Linked DNA regions of Homo sapiens: region 1 is linked to region 2. The links are contacts of gene promoters, found by promoter capture Hi-C in blood cells and fetal thymus (Javierre and others, 2016). All regions are on one chromosome and are shown on one strand. The core of a region is centred on a gene start or on the middle of the fragment in contact, and the rest is flanking DNA. Distances in the headings are between cores, read along the strand shown.

Region 1 (2,700 bases), core at 142-2,641, 800 kb after region 2:
GTAGCTATACTGATGTTCCTCTGAAGGCAGAGCATGTTGGAGAAATAGGAAGAAACAGATTACCTGCATGCAGTTTGGTGGAGGGGAGCAGCTAATATTATTGGGGAAAAGTTAGGTCCATCTTGATGAGTAAAATAAATCAGAAGGTTTCAATGACTTATCAGTATCTGGTAAGCACTGAAAGATAAAGGTCATAGAACACACATAACATTAATGGCATATTTATGCATATAGTGGGTTAGATTTTATTCTGAAAGTTGTCTTTTCCTTTTCTCTTTTCCAGATATGGATAAACTCATAAACAACTTGGAGGTCCAACTTAATTCAGAAGGTGGCTCAATGCAGGTATTCAAGCAGGTCAGTTATCAGGAAAATAGGGTGCTAATATTGGGCCATAATAGTATTGAATACCTGGTAGTGATTACAGAATTTAAACTCATTTTTCTTTCTATAACATGTTTGGGGATTGAGAAGAGGTGAAGGAAGACATATTTCTAGAAAGTATATGAATGCCTTGGTTTCATAGTCAGCTGGGGAGTAGATCTGGCCTAAAAGAAACATAGCCTCTGGAATCAAGGCTATAAAGACAAGAGTAGACCTTTAGTAGACAATAGCAACTATTTATATAGCACTATTTCATATTTCAGATAGGATGAAGATTAAATGCATTGTCTTATTTAATCTTCACCATAATCCTGTTGAACAGTGTATTAATTAGTATTCTCCAGAGAAACAGAACCAACAGGATATGTGTGTATGGTGTATGTGTGTGTGTATGCATATATGTACATGGAGAGAGAGAGAGAGAGAGATTTCAAGAAATTGGCTCATTAGATTGTGGAGGCATGGCAAGTCCAAAACCCCATCAGGGGTAGGCCGGCAGGCTGGAGATTCAGAAGGAGTTACAGTTTGAGTCCAAAAGCAGATTGTGAGAAGAATTCTTTCTTGCTCTATGGAGGACAGTCTTTGTTTTAAAAACTAAGGTCTTCAACTGATTGGTTGAGGACCACTCACATTATAGAGAGTAATGTGCCCTATTTAAAGTACAATGTTTTAAATGTTGGTCTCATCCAAAAAAATACCTTCACAGAAACATCTAGAATAATGTTTGACCAAATATCTGGGCACTGTAGCCCAGCCAAGTTGTCACATAAAATTAACCATCATTATTCTTAGTTTCCCCATTTGATGGAAAATAAAACTGGCCTTGAACACTCCAAGAATTAGGATTCGAAACAGGTTATCTGGATTTTATGTCCCAGGGCTCTGTGCTAGATGTTGAAGTCCCGTCTTTCTTGGGGTTGCAAATTCACTGCATGAGTGAAACTCAAATACAGTCAAAATTAACCTTGAAAATCCTTAAATCACCTATAGACTTGAGTATACAGTGTTGTATATACAATACTTGTCTGTTTCTTTATTTAATTCATCAGATAAAGTTGGTTACATTTAGGAATCTTTTTGTTATAATTTCAACTTTTATTTTATTTTTTGAATTTTTATATATTTATTTATTTATTTATTTATTTATTTGAGACGGAGTCTCGCTTTGTCACCCAGGATGGAGTGCAGTGGCACAATCTTGGCTCACTGCATCCTCTGCCTTCCAGGTTCAAGCTATTCTTCTGCCTCAGCCTCCTGAGTAGCTGGGACTACAGGCACGCACCACCATGCCCGGCTAATTTTTGTATTTTTAGTAGGGACAGGGTTTCACCATATTGGCTAGGCTGGTCTCGAACTCCTGACCTCATGATCCGCCCACCTCGGCCTCCCAAAGTGCTGGGTTTATAGGTGTGAGCCACCGTACCTGGCCTTATTTTTAATTTTTGTAGGTACATAGTAGGCGTATATATTTATGGGATACATTGAGATGTTTTCATACAGGCATGCAATGTGAAATAATCACATTATGGAGAATGGGGTATCCATCCCTGCAGCATTTATCCTTTGTGTTACAAACAATGCAATTACACTCTTTTAGATATTTTTTAAGTGTACAATTAAGTTATTATTGACTCTAGTCACCCTATCATGCTATCAAATAGTAGGTCTTATTTGTTATTTCCAACTTTTTTTTGTTTTTGAGATGGAGTCTCTCTCTGTTGCCCAGGCTGGAGTACAGTGGTGGCTTCTCAGCTCACTGCAACCTCCGCCTCCCAGATTCAAGCAATTATCTTGCCTCAGCCTCCTGAGTAGCTAGGACTACAGGCACATGCCACCACGCCCAGCTAATTGTTTGTATTTTTAGTAGAGACAGGGTTTCACCATGTTGGCCAGGCTGGTCTCAAAATCCTGACCTCAGGTGATCTGCCCATGTCGGCCTCCCAAAGTGCTGGGGATTACAGGAGAGAGCCACTGCACCCAGACAATTTCTAACTATTTTTTCGTACACATTCACCATGACCACCTCCTCCTCAACACCCCACTGCCCTTCCCAGCCTCTGGTAACCATCCTTCTACTCTCTATGTCCATGAGTTCAATGGTTTCGATTTTTAGATCCCACAAATAAATAAGAACATGTGATATTTGTCTTTCTATACCTGACTTATTTCACTGAACATAATAATCTCCAGTTCCACCCATGTTATTGCAAATGACAGGATCTCATTCTTTTTATGGCTGAATAGTACTCCATTGTGTATCTGTAACACATTTTCTTTATCCATTCATCTGTTGATGAATACTTAGGTTGCTTCCAA
Region 2 (2,700 bases), core at 131-2,630:
CACCGCTTGGAAAACCTTGAGAGGCAAAATCTGTGCTTACCATGTAATAAATGCTTTTCATTTTTTATCTCATTTAATTCTCACAACCCTATGAGGGCTGTACTTTAGCCCCACTTTATAGATGGGAAAACAGGCTTAGAGAGAAGTGACTTGCTTAAACTAATACCTTGAATGACATAAGAAAGATATAGAGTGCTAGTTATAGGGCTTTCCTCAATGGAGTAAAAATGGACTCATTACCCTTTTGGGCAGATCAAGACAAGCTTCAGGGAGAAACAGGTCTGTGAGCAGTCAAATGGAATTTAGATAGTTGGAGAAGGCTGAGAAGACAGGTCAGGCAGAGCAAACAGTGAGCAAAAGCAAGCAGTGGATAAAGTTCAGAGTATGCTCTGAAAGAAGCAAAATAAATCAGGAGTCCAGGAAGACTGGAGCCTAGAAACCTTGGAGCCAATCTGAACTCCATCATCCCCTCCACATTCCCCACTTCATCCATTCTGTCTGCAAAGCCCTTCAACGGTCACCTTTAAAATGTCTTTCTGCCTCTCCATCCCCATGGCAACAGCCTTAAGGCATACTTTAGTTCCCAGTGCTTCTTATTCCAATTGCTTCCTATGTGGTCTGCCAGGAAACAGTTTGCTTTTCTGAGAGGCTGCACAAATGCAATTCCTCTGATCCTGTCACTGCCCTGCTTTCATACATACATACATACATATATGTGTGGTAGATATATGCACTGTATATAAACATAATGTGGTAGATATATGCACGATATAGGTATGTATGTATGTATGTATAAAAGCAGGGCAGTATATATATCGTGCATATATCTACCACATTTTAAAGGCTCTGCACCTCTTTCACCCTGCTTGTTTCTGCAGTCCCATCTCCTCACATCATCCAGCACATCTGCCATAACAATATTATCCGGGTCCTACATGGGACCACAAATTGATTAGTATACACACAAATGCCTTCTGAAAACAGGGCGAGTGAATGAACGCGCTGTGTAAGCCAAGACAGGAAAGGAAGGCTGGAGACAGCTGACTCCTTCCAAGAATACACCCTCCCGCCACCCCTGGCCTCCCAACCCCCAACACACACACAGCCCGTCGTCAGTGGGAATGGAGCCGACGCACTCCTTCCCTAGACCGTCGAGCCAATCTTGGAATGTTTGTAGTAGGCTGAAAATACAGAAACTTTAAGCTATTTTTTTCTCTTCTGCAAACTCCAGGCCCCTCCAATCTCTAGCTGTCATTTCTGCCCTTGTCCCACCCCTGTCGCTGCCTGCCCCTTTTCCTATCTGCTAGCGGAAGTCCCTGTGGAGGACCAGCCTACTTCCTCTTTGGTGCTAGGAGTGTGCGTGGCAGGAGAGGCGGGGCCAATTTTGCTGAGCTTTCTCGCGGGCTTGCAGCTGCGGCAAGTGCTGGCGGCGGCTGCTCGCGCAAGTCAGCTGGCGTGGGAACTACCCTTTGTAGCTGAGAACGGCTTGTTTATTGCTACAAAGACTCTATTGACATTGGTAGCTTCAGCGGCAGCAGCTTCTTACGGTATAAAGCTGTTGCTTCCTGAAGAGGCTACAAGCATCCTTCCCTAGGACTGCTGTAAGCTTTGAGCCTCTAGCAGGAGACATGCCTCGGGGACGAAAGAGTCGGCGCCGCCGTAATGCGAGAGCCGCAGAAGAGAACCGCAACAATCGCAAAATCCAGGCCTCAGAGGCCTCCGAGACCCCTATGGCCGCCTCTGTGGTAGCGAGCACCCCCGAAGACGACCTGAGCGGCCCCGAGGAAGACCCGAGCACTCCAGAGGAGGCCTCTACCACCCCTGAAGAAGCCTCGAGCACTGCCCAAGCACAAAAGCCTTCAGTGCCCCGGAGCAATTTTCAGGGCACCAAGAAAAGTCTCCTGATGTCTATATTAGCGCTCATCTTCATCATGGGCAACAGCGCCAAGGAAGCTCTGGTCTGGAAAGTGCTGGGGAAGTTAGGAATGCAGCCTGGACGTCAGCACAGCATCTTTGGAGATCCGAAGAAGATCGTCACAGAAGAGTTTGTGCGCAGAGGGTACCTGATTTATAAACCGGTGCCCCGTAGCAGTCCGGTGGAGTATGAGTTCTTCTGGGGGCCCCGAGCACACGTGGAATCGAGCAAACTGAAAGTCATGCATTTTGTGGCAAGGGTTCGTAACCGATGCTCTAAAGACTGGCCTTGTAATTATGACTGGGATTCGGACGATGATGCAGAGGTTGAGGCTATCCTCAATTCAGGTGCTAGGGGTTATTCCGCCCCTTAAGTAGATCTGAGGCAGACCCTTGGGGGTGTAAAAGAGAGTCACAGGTACCCCAAGGAGTAGATGCCAGGGTCCTAAGTTGAAAATGATGTCGATTGGGGGCGGGGGACACTGTATTTGATATTTGTGATCAGTGATCATTGTTCAACTGCGAAATAGAGTGTTTGCTTTTGATAATGGAAAATTGTATTCGTTTTAAAATTCCGTTTGTTGAGAATAACAATATGTTTAAAAATATAATTGAACAAATTTTTTTCTTTGTTTCCTGTCATTGACATTTAGTATAACAGTTTTGCTAACGTTCTAAAATGAAGTCGTTCCATCATAATCTATGATCTTGTACAGCACTTATAGAAATAAGCTGTTCTTTTGAAGTTGAAATACCCAGTAAAATGTTGAAGAAGGATGGAGGATT

The links. The method cuts DNA at HindIII sites, captures the fragments that hold promoters and counts their contacts. A CHiCAGO score of 5 or more calls a contact.
Region 1: a contact is called between a fragment that was not itself captured here and the fragment with the promoter of MAGEH1 in region 2, in 1 of 17 cell types (endothelial precursors). The highest score is 6.8, in endothelial precursors.

What each region holds. Positions count from the first base shown.
Region 1 is chrX:56,249,948-56,252,647 of GRCh38, forward strand. It overlaps KLF8 (KLF transcription factor 8), which reads left to right. Exons shown (of 6, transcript NM_007250.5): 2 at 284-357. Among named protein-coding and RNA genes, the nearest start is that of KLF8, 19 kb to the left of the region's middle. The HindIII fragment of the contact is 3,724 bases long and covers 1-2,700 here.
Region 2 is chrX:55,450,747-55,453,446 of GRCh38, forward strand. MAGEH1 (MAGE family member H1) reads left to right here and starts at 1,381. Exons shown (of 1, transcript NM_014061.5): 1 at 1,381-2,700. The coding sequence starts at 1,629. The coding sequence ends at 2,288. MIR4536-2 (microRNA 4536-2) reads left to right here and starts at 749; the gene lies at 749-836. MIR4536-1 (microRNA 4536-1) reads right to left here and starts at 836; the gene lies at 749-836. RefSeq lists enhancers at 1,594-1,643, 1,794-1,843. The HindIII fragment of the contact is 1,343 bases long and covers 262-1,604 here.